3 separate regions of the Homo sapiens genome follow, and regions 2 and 3 are each linked to region 1. The links are contacts of gene promoters, found by promoter capture Hi-C in blood cells and fetal thymus (Javierre and others, 2016). All regions are on one chromosome and are shown on one strand. The core of a region is centred on a gene start or on the middle of the fragment in contact, and the rest is flanking DNA. Distances in the headings are between cores, read along the strand shown.

What was found. The method cuts DNA at HindIII sites, captures the fragments that hold promoters and counts their contacts. A CHiCAGO score of 5 or more calls a contact.
Region 2: a contact is called between a fragment that was not itself captured here and the fragment with the promoter of FNDC7 in region 1, in 1 of 17 cell types (naive CD4 T cells). The highest score is 5.2, in naive CD4 T cells.
Region 3: a contact is called between a fragment that was not itself captured here and the fragment with the promoter of FNDC7 in region 1, in 1 of 17 cell types (activated CD4 T cells). The highest score is 5.6, in activated CD4 T cells.

The regions. Positions count from the first base shown.
Region 1 is chr1:108,711,244-108,714,977 of GRCh38, forward strand. It overlaps FNDC7 (fibronectin type III domain containing 7), which reads left to right and starts at 1,665. Exons shown (of 13, transcript NM_001144937.3): 1 at 1,665-1,753; 2 at 2,268-2,286. The coding sequence starts at 1,691. The HindIII fragment of the contact is 11,369 bases long and covers 1-3,734 here.
Region 2 is chr1:108,899,264-108,902,997 of GRCh38, forward strand. It overlaps GPSM2 (G protein signaling modulator 2), which reads left to right. Exons shown (of 15, transcript NM_013296.5): 8 at 2,527-2,682. Among named protein-coding and RNA genes, the nearest start is that of GPSM2, 24 kb to the left of the region's middle. The HindIII fragment of the contact is 5,386 bases long and covers 1-3,734 here.
Region 3 is chr1:108,555,046-108,558,779 of GRCh38, forward strand. No RefSeq gene overlaps it. Among named protein-coding and RNA genes, the nearest start is that of EEIG2, 3.2 kb to the right of the region's middle. The HindIII fragment of the contact is 3,181 bases long and covers 527-3,707 here.

The sequences.
Region 1 (3,734 bases), core at 415-2,914:
ACAGAATGAGACCCCGTCTCCAAAAAAAAAAAAAAAAACCTTTTCTGCATTCTGCTAATGACTAGTGATGCTGAGGATTTTTTCCATGCCTTTATTTTCCACGAGTATGTCTTCTTTTGTAAAGTGTTTGTTCATATCTTTTGCCCATTTTGTATTGAGTTGTTTTCCTATTACTGGGTTTTGAGAATACACACACACAGAATACAAGTCCTTTATAAGATATATATTTTCCCGCAGTCTGTGGCTTATCTTTTCATTCCCTTAATAGTGCAGATATTCTTCATTTTAATGAAGTCAAATTTATCAAATTTTAAAAATGGATTATACTTTTAGTGTTGTATATAAGAAATCTTTGCCTAACCCAAAGTCACAAAGATATTCTCTTGTGTTTTTTTTTCTGGACATTTTATAGTTTCAGGTGCTACATTTAGATCTATGATCCATTTTGAGTTCATTTTTTAATGTGGTGTGAGGTATGAACCAAAGTTTATGTTTTCTGCATATGGTTATCCAGTTGTTCCAGCACCATCTGTTGAAAAGTCTATTCTTTCTCCTTTGGATTGCCTTGTATCTTTGTTGAAAATCAATTATCTATATATGCGTGGGTTTATTTTTGGACTCTCTGTCCCATTGATCTATTTATCTATCTTCATGCCAATACCACCCGGTCTCTATTTTATTTTAGCTTTATGGTAAATCTTAAAGTCAGGGACGGTAAATGCAGTTCTTTTCCCTTTTTTGTAATCCTATCTTGGTTGAAAGTAGAAATCAGACTGATGCGTTTTAACTCTAGTTTGATCATTTAATTCTTGTGTGATTTCAGATAAGCCAATTAATTATGTTTATTATTCATTTATGTATCTGTTCATTGTTAAAATTATACATTGTAATTCTTAAATTAAATGCTAATTATTATTAAGAGTGTGAACTAGGAAGACAGCTCCGGAAATAAAAGGAACTAGCCAGGCGCAGTGGTGCATGCCTGTAGTCTCAGCTACTCAGGAGGCAGAGGTGGGAGGATTGCTTGAGCCCAGGAGTTGGAGGCTGCTTGGCAAAATAGCAAGACCCTGTCTCTAAAAAAATGAAAAAAAAAAAAAGGTACTGGAACTGCAGGGTGGTACGGGGGATGGATAAATTTAATGTGCTCACCAGGGACCTCTCACTATCTTTCTCAGTACAGGGACATGCTCCTGCCCTTTCATATTCCATGTTGAAGTTTTGCAACAAATTCTTCCTGACAGTAGGACCAATCACTTACTTTGAACTAAAAGAACAACAACAAATAAAGGTGAAAAAGAAAAATAAAACTGGTCAGCATCCCCGAGTTCAAAATAATTATTCTACCACATCAACAACTTTCTGTGCAGCTTTCTAAAATTTTTATTTAGACAGAAATTGTTTTAAAAAGAAGGTTGCTTTGAAACCAAGGTTACAGTAGCTTTTTGGCCCGCTTGCCGTGGCTTTCTCCAACTCTCTTCTTCTTTTCAGTCTTTGCAATACCTGTCCCTGCCGGTCTCCAAGTGCCCCTGGTTACAGGTCAGCTCCACACTGAAGGGGAGGAGCTACTTCCTAGGGTCTCTTCCCAGCATCACAGCCCTACATCCCAGCGACCAACGGTGTTATACTCCTGGGGGCCAAAGAGGACCCGGATTGCTTTGTTTTGTGCCATGTGAGTACTATGTCCAACAGGATGGCTGGTGGACGAGAGACATGTTTGCCTTTGATTGGATTCATTCTTATCTGTCTTAAAATGGTGAGTTCATCATTCCAACTACCCACAACTATTTAGGGGAAAAAAGAAAGACACATTATTTTTCTCTCCTTTTTTTTTTGAGGAGTTGGGGAATAGGGAGATAGAAATCAGAATACTTTGGTTTGTACCGAGGTTGTATATGTTTGCGTGTTTGAAATTTAATGCCATATACTAGAGAAAGAAAACAAGATTATCATTATATTTTAAGAACAAAGATTTCTGAAAAATCTGTCAGCAGCTACTGACTTAGTTCAATAGGCAGATTCAAAGGGGAAAAAAATGAAATAGTAATGGGATCTGCCTCCAGCCTCTAAATTCTATTTAGAGTTGTTTTGTGGTAGATTTGGGTGCTGGGAAATGATTTGTGTGGAGAAATACTTGTATGGATTGAAAGACTGCTCACGTTAGATGTAAAAATGTTGTGATTAATTTATTACCGCTTTTATTCATGTTTTACGTTTGTTCAAGTTGTGTTTTTCTGTGTGGTTCTAATTTTCCAAACTTTCCTTTTCAGGTTGCTTCAGCAAAATCAGGTACAATTTTCTGACCTGCAAGTTTTTCCTTCTCGTATTTGATTTTAATTTCCATTGTTAATTCACGGGCTACCCTGAAATCTAAAGGCTATATGAGAAAAAAAAATTCAATATTTTCTGAGCACTCACACTGGGTGCTAAGCACTCTATTGGGTCCTGGGGAGACAATAACTGGTAAGACAAATAAATGGATTGAACTCGAAAGACAAATCTTCATAAAGTGTTCTTGCTGAGGACTATAATGTACAGAGCCATGTAGGCATGCATTTTCTCATATACGGTTAGCCATGTGTGAAATATTACAATGATCATCATTCCAGTTAAGATATTGTACAGAGTCTAATTTATACAAATGTTCTTGTTTATCTTCCGGGGAATTAGAGGGAAAATGAGAAATGTTATATTTGATTAAATTGTCAATATTCCCTACTTTAAAAAGAACTTTATACTTCTAATATTGCATATTTGAAATATAGACAATAGTCACTCAGGGCTGAAAGGGGACCCTCTTTTAAAAATAGTTGATCTCCATCTTTCTTGAGTAGATAACCGAAGGCAAAAATAATTTATCTAGAGGCCCCTCCTAGCTCATTTGTGCTAGAAATCTAAGTACCTGGAATGGAAATTTATTTTTAGGAGGGTTAACTTATCTGTAGGAACCACATAATATCAACCATATCACCGATAAATTCTCATAGTGATTCAACATAAATTAGAAAAATTTTTATTTATTATTTTGTCTACACCACAGAAAAGGAAGTGAAATTAAGACAGTTAAAAAATTTGATACAGATACATGTCTGAGCCATGAAATTTCATAAAATTCATGCATATACAGTAAGTTTTTAAAAATTTCTATTTCCTGGCCAGGTACCAAGGCTCACGCCTATAATCTCAGCACTTTGGGAAGCCAAGATGGGAGGATTGCTTGAGCCCAGGATTTCAAGACCAGCCTGGGCAACATAGCAACACCCCACCTCTTGCTTTATTCTTATTTACTTGTCTTATTCTTGAGAGATCTTTAGGATTAGCCAGGAAACTATAGGAGGGTCTGCTTGGCCATATACAAAGTGGCATTTTTTTTTTTTTTTTTTTTTGAGACAGAGTCTCTGTCGCCCAGGCTGGAGTGCAGTGGTGCAATCTCGGTTCACTGCAAGCTCTGCCTCCCAGGTTCAGGCCATTCTCCTGCCTCAGCCTCTCCGAGCAGCTGGGACTACAGGCACCCGCCACTACCCCCGGCTAATTTTTTGTATTTTTAGTAGAGACAGGGTTTCACCGTGGTCTCGATCACCTGACCTCATGATCCGCCCGCCTCGGCCTCCCAAAGTGCTGGGATTACAAGCGTGAGCCACCGCGCCCGGCCGGCTTCTTAAATAAGTCGACTTTGGGTGGACAGAATCTAACTCTGCCGTCTCTTACAAGGTCCTAGCACACCCAGGACAGACCAA
Region 2 (3,734 bases), core at 718-3,217, 190 kb after region 1:
TTGGTTTTTATCTTTAAAAGTAATTGTTTTTAAATGAAGTTTTCAACCTTTAATATCTTTTAAACCTGTTTAGCATATGTGGTGTATATTGTGTATATGCTTTATTTCACTCAGTTATGGGTTAGAAGAGAGGCCAAAAGAAAGCCTTGTAACAAAAATATTTATAGTCTATACCAGTGATCACTGAATTTTTTTCTCTACCTTCCCACCCTCTTATTGAGCAGTTCTCCCTTTACCCTCTTTCTGCCTATATTTGACTGTCACTGTAAGCTGAGTCCCCCATTCACTTACCTGAAGCATTTACAATCCCAGCTTCTTCTGTGGCAGGATCTCTCTTATCAGTAGATTTGAGACATAGATGATAGAAAGTTTAGACAGCTTCAAGTTGCCTGATCTGTGCTTTCTAGATTGAGTTTTCCCTAGTTAGTGGGGATTGAAGCCTCTTACAGATTTTGGGTAGAAGGCAGTTTGACTAAACCGAAGACACAGTGATTGATTTGTATTTTGTTAAAGAAGCCAATATGAGACAGTTCTGGATAATTTGTCATCTTCATAAAAAAGGTAAAATTGTTTTAGGCCTATCTAAAAAAATTAAATAGCATTCCACTTTGCTTTAAACATCAACTAATGGTTAATATTTGTTGGTTAGGTTAGTTAGATATGAAATAGCCTCCCAAATAAAATATATCACTGTGTACTATGTGAAGGAGTATATATTTTGATTTTAAATATAAAAATTTCCTATATTTAAAGCCAAGGGATATAGAGAAGTCTTAATTATTAAATGGTGTATCTGTGTTAAATACTGAAAGGTTCTATTATAAAATGGATAGTGGCTATTTGACTAAAGAAGCATGAATATAAAGTAATGAAACTTAGTTTTTTTCCTCCCAATAAGCAGGCTAGAACTCAGAACTTTATATATATTCCAAGTCGTTGGTTAGAAATATTTTTAGAACTCTTCTTTAGATTTTTTTTTTTTTTTTTTTTTTAAATACGGAGTTTTGCTCTTGTCGCCCAGGCTGGAGTGCAATGGCACAATCTTGGTGCACTGCAACCTCGGCCTCCCCGGTTCAAGCGATTCTCCTGCCTCAGCTTCTGAGCAGCTGGGATTACAGGTGTCTGCCACCACGCCCAGCTAATTTTTGTATTTTTAGTAGAGACGGGGTTTCGCCATGTTGGCCAGGCTAGTCTGGGACTCCTGACCTCAAGTGATCCGCCCACCTCAGCCTCCCAAAGTGCTGGGATTACAGGCGTGAACCACCACACCCAGCCTGGAATTGTTATCAGGGCCAAACAAGAAGGCTAACAATGTAGATCCATATCCTTCCGGATACAAAGCAGTAGTTTGGTAAACCTATGTTAGTAATTGAATTTGGTTCCAGAAAGATTTCTGATCATTTACAAATCAACTGTACCATCAAAGAATAATGGTATGCCAGAAAGCATTATGCCACAGGATCTGAAAGCAATTCCAAAAGTCTTTCAAAAATATTTGAAAAGACAGGCAACATTAGAATAAGTAGGTAGCCTCCCAAGGTGACAGATTTGAAGGTATCATCATTAAATATGTAACTTTAGATTTGTTTGCTTAAAAAAAGCTATCACGTTACCGCATAGTAATTTGTCATATAGTTATAAGTGATATGAAGTAATTATACTATTTGACAGAAATAATGGGAGGGTCATTTAAATTACTGAATCCAAAAGCATCTATAGGTTTAAGCACTGATAATAACACATTAACATTTATACAGCAACTACTATGCACAAGATGCTATTCTAAGCACTTTATACATATTAATTTAATCCTCACAAAAATCCTTCGAGATATTTCCCCCATTTTATATAAGAAGAGACTGGTATACAGAGAGATTGAGTGACTTTGCCCTTAGCTTAGTAATTGGCAAAGTTGGGATTTAAACCCAGTCTAGCTCCAAGATCTATGCTCTTAACTGCTACGCTAGCTTCTCACTGGCAATACCACAGGTAGAATTTGGGTAATGTTTGGATGTAGTATTCAGTATTTTTCATGAGTTGGTGACTAATGCCCGATACATAAGAATTTTACCTAAGTGGTGACTAATAGCCTACACATAAGAATTTTACCTAAATATTTTAAATTTTGACAATGCAAAGGTGACGGTATGATTGAAAACAGATGTCATGTGGAAAAAAGCCTCTTTTAGCTATTGCCAATACTAAAGGGAAAGTTTTTTTAAATGTTAAAGATATTATGTTAATCTCTAGAACCTCTTGATTTTATGTTTCAATACTCCTTTACTTTGATGAATTGTTAGGATTCTCAAATTTATTCTAAAAGTCTTGAATCTTCTTTCTGTGTTTCAAAAACGTCTTTTCATTTTGTCTAAAAGTAATGGAGAAAGTACGGGATATGAATATTAGGCTCTCAGAGATTTAAAGACAGCAGAAAGCAGCAGAGAGGAAAAATGAGAGTTTTGTTTTGTGATTCTTAAAGCCCAAACTGAGAATGATCATTATATAAGAATTAATTTCTTCTTGTAGGAAGACACTACTGTTGGCCCGACAGCTTAAAGACCGAGCTGTAGAAGCACAGTCTTGTTACAGTCTTGGAAATACATATACTTTACTTCAAGACTATGAAAAGGCCATTGATTATCATCTGAAGCACTTAGCAATTGCTCAAGAGCTGAATGATAGGTATGTTTTACGTCTTTTTACCATAACTAAGGTAAAATATAGATGCATTATTGAATCCCTAGAATTTTTCCTTTGTTTCTTTTCCTTTGTTTTCCTTAAAATCCCTTTTAAGGAATTTTCTTTCAGTGATATCCTCTGTATATCATTGTATGAAGGGCTAGTCTGTGATAGAGGATTAGTCTGGTTCCATATGCCCTTGACCCAAGATCAATGACTAGGTCCCAAACTCAATTACCTCTTCAGAAGTCTTCCTGGTGAAACCCCGTATCTACTAAAAATACAAAAATTAGCCGGGTGTGGTGGCGCACGCTTGTAATCCCAGCTACTCAGGAGGCTGAGGCAGGAGAATCGCTTGAACCCAGGAGGTGGAGGTTGCAGTGAGCTGAGATCACGCCACTGCGCTCCAGCCTGGCGACAGAGCAAGACTGCATCTCAAAAAAAAAAAAAAAAAAGTTTTCCTAACTACATAAGTGTGGGAATTGTGGTGAACTTAGAGATAATGTCCAGTGTGAAGGGGGCAACTGCTACCCAACTCCAACTAATTGTTGCCAGCCAGGAATGAAAATCCGTTATGTCCACATCTTCCTGTTTTTTAAAGAGAAGCTGGAAGTGCTGAGTTTTATATGAAATCTGATTTTTAAATGTTAGTGGCTAATTCAGTTTTTTTGTTTTACTGTATTAAAAAACATTATTTTCCAGCATTTAGTCTGTGATGTTTGCTTTAGAAGATCGATTTTGTTTTTACCTCAGTATGAGAGAGAACTTTTCGATGCAGATGTTCAAAATGAAGTATGCTACCTCAAGAGGTAGTGCGTTCTCTCTCCCTGCTGCTCAAACACACACTGAATAATTACCTGGTAGGGCTGTTATAGAAGGAAAATAGGGTAGTGGACCAGAATACCTATCCTTGAGATTTATTACTTTATAATGTATTTCATATTTTAAAAGCATGTTTTCTATGTTGTAATACTTGACTGTGAGTTTAGTATTATGTGGGTATTCTTTTTTTTAATCTGGGTATTCTAGTATGTCTATAATATCATGATAGTATG
Region 3 (3,734 bases), core at 867-3,366, 160 kb before region 1:
CTGAAAAGTATTTGATCTTTTTGCTTCCAGTCAGTTCCATATGCCAGAAACACTGAGGTTTCCTAGAGATAATTCTCAATCCTGATTATCTCTTTGCTTCTTCACTCCTCTCTTCCTCTCAATTTAAGGAGGCTACTTTGAGAACATCAGACTTAAATGTGAAGACCACACCCTAAATATAATCTTTGTTTCACGGCTGAGTCTTAATGGGCCCTTGTTGCTCAAGAGCTTTTTCAATCTTATTTCCTATTCTTTGAGGTATAGAGCAGTTAGTTTTTCCCATCCCTTGAGGCTCCAAATTTCTGGACTCTCTATATTCCTTTTAATTTATGCTTGCAAACCTGCTAATTATTGCATGAGTTCATCTTATGTTTCCAATATCTTACTGAATGCAGCCATAAATATAACCTACTAACATTCCATTTTTCAACCTCTTATAGAACTATGGGTTTCATAGATATCTTACTTTCTTACCAAATTATTGTAGGTATAAGATTGATGGGAAAGCTTCCCCTCTGCCTTCTGAAGCTTTGCTGAAATGACTGACAATAGACAGATTAACAGGAGAAAAGGCATACAAATTTATCAGTGCACATGGACAGAGTAGTCCTGCGAATATGAGACTCAAAGAAAGACCAGAGGGTTGAGACTTAAATATCCTTTTTGTAGGGGAGAGGTAAAGGGGGAGTGTACGCATTTTTAAGGGGTAGTAAATGCTTTTCAAGGGAATTGAATAAACCTGTAAGAATTGTCACACCTCTGGCAGTAAGCAGTCTTAGCACATGTCTATTCACTCTGTTGTTTTACCTGAGAGTTAACACACTTAGGATAGGTCTATAAATTCAGGTCATTTCAAGAAACATGTATTGAATACCCACTAGGTACTGGGCTATTTAGAAAAGATACAAAGATGATCAGCAAACCATCCCTGCCTTTAAGAAACTTGAATTATAAGTACTGGAGTAGATACTTAGCCTCAACATTCATTCCACCATCCTATCTGAAGAAGTTGGAAAGCTGAAAATTACATTTCTCAGACTCCTTTGCCACTCAATTTTTGGGTGCAAATAAGGCCTGCCAAATAAATTTCCTTATGAAAACACAGGTGCAAGTGAAATGGAGGCTCTCTTCTTACTGCTGTGTCACTTGCAAGCAAGGTGTGATGACATGCCTGTGGCATTCAGACTCCTCATAGTCTTGACAGGTGTGAGCCAGTGGTGGTGGCAGCAGCAGTAGCAGTGTTCTAGTGTCAGCTTCCCATCCCAGCTGCAGTGTATGTTAGTCAGAATAAACTAGACTTATGCTGTAGTGACAAGCATCCCCCAAAATCTCAGTGGCTTCATATAATAAAAGTTGCTTTCTCACAGACAAAATGTTTCCTGCAGGTGTGGGCAGTTGCTCTCCATGTGCTGACTTAAGAAATCTGGGCTGCTTCAATCTTGTGGCTGCTACATCTTAACCCAAGGTCTCCTCTATAACTATTGTGGCAGGGAAGAGGTAGTCTAGAGAACTGCTCAAAGGCTTTTCACTGTTTCATCCTGGAAGTGACGTGTTACTTCTCACATTTTATTGGCTAGACCTCATCACAAGGCCCCACTAACCGCAAGGGAATTGGGAACTGTAAACTCCCATATGCTCAGAAATCAAGGAGGACCGGATACTAGTGAACACTAGTAATGTTTACCACAAAGCATGTGACTTTGAATTCGACAGTCTGCTGACCTCAACCCCTTCAGCCCTTCCACAGATTTCAGAAGCAGTGAAGTGCCTGAATGAAATCCCTTTTTTTTTTTTTTTTTGAAACATCCAGAGTGGTTTCAGCTTCCTATGGTGAACCCTGACTGTATCCTTTGTGTGCTAGTGGCTTTCCATCCCCTTACCTCCAACCATTCTCTACCTTTCAGTGCCCTACTTTGTGCCCCAGGAGTCTGTCCTGTATGAACTGCATGTTCCGAGCCCCTCTACCCTCTGGCCTTGGTTGGTTTTGGATCATGGGAAGCACCACCAAGAGATCAGAAAGTAGGAGGTGAGAGAAATCAGGATATTTATCCCTTCTTCCTTTCAACTTCTCACCAGACTGTGGGTCCCTTACCCTGTCAACTCTGTGAAGAGTCCTTTCATTAAATTTTCCCCATTTAAACACATTGAATATGATATCTGTTTCCTGCCTTGACTATGACTCCTATCAGGGGTTTAATAATCAAACCATGAGTCTAAAAAACAGTAACAGACTGTCTCCTATCTTCCATTTTATAAAGTAGAAGAGCTTTACAAAATGTAAATCTGAATATATCATGCTTCTTCTTTAAAACTTCAATGGCTCTTTGTTAACCCCTGTCACTGTACCCAACTCTAAGTTGCAGCCAGACAGAACTAATTTCAGTTCCCTCTGCAACATGGTCTCTCTTCCTTTGAGCCTCTGCACAGACACTACCTCCTTCCTGGAAACTGCTCCCCACCCATGCTCATTATTCAGGCCTCAGCTTAAAGGCCTGAATTCAGGCTTCACTTACCCTAGAAGGCATTCCATAAACCTACTACTTATCCCTGTTAGCTTTTATAGTCTCCCACAGCAGTCTCCACTCACCATCATACACAGACAGCACTCAGTGTTACATTGTACTGCAACTGCCTGCTTACTTCTCTGTGTCCTCCAGTAGACCGTGAGATCTAAGACAGGGACGGCATTTCAAATCCATAGGACCTATTAAGGTGCTTGGCACCTAATAGACACTCAATAAATATTGGATAGTTCCTGAATGTTATTGAAAAAGATTGAACTGTCCTCCTCTGGTCACCATTCTCTCTCTCTTTTCATTCGCTGACAAAAAAATCAGAAAAACATCAATAAAAATATAATTTTTATTTACCCACATTACTTTGTCACTATCTTACTTTTCACTGTCATCTTTTCACTTACTTTGTCACTTTTCATCTTACTTTGTCACTATCTTTTATGATGACTTCTCTTGCCAAGATTACCAATGACCTCCTAGACCTTCAATTCAGTAGCTTCTTTTCAGTCCAAATCCTCTGGGACTGCTCTGCAGCACTCTCTTGAAATGGTCCTCTGTCCTACATGGATCACAGATTGCTCTCTCTCTTTCTTTCTCTCTCTCTTCTCTCTCTCACACACACATACTCACATACCACACACACACACTTTAGTTGATCTGTTTGCATATCTCTGTTTTTCTCCATTCCTTTATAAGCCCCTATGTCTTATTCATTTGCATCTCTAGTACCCAGCATAGTGCCTGGCACACAATAGAACTTTGTAACTACGAATGTTACATGATTAAAACCGTCTGGGCTTCCAGGCCATCTCTTTCTTCATCTCCTTTTTCTCTTGACTGCTTGTTCTTAGGCACCTTCACGATCTCCTCTTTGCCTACCCTTTAAATATTCTTCAGAGTAACTCATCCTTATCCACCTTTTGGGCTTCAGCCATCAGCGATTACCTCAATTCCCAAATGTATATTTTCAATTGCCAATGCATTTTTATGAGCTAAGGCTGCCTCTCTCTCCCTAGATGTACTGCAAGCAGATCCCATAAAGACTCATTATCTCTTCCATTCCCAACCTGCCCTCCTCTTGCTTTCAATGTTCAGTCAATGAAATTAACATTCATCCAGTGCTCTAAATGACAAATCTCAAAGTCCCCAAATGCATCTCACTGTCTTTGCCCCCTGTCCTGCAGGGTAAGAAGCTTTATCCATTACCAAATCCCCACC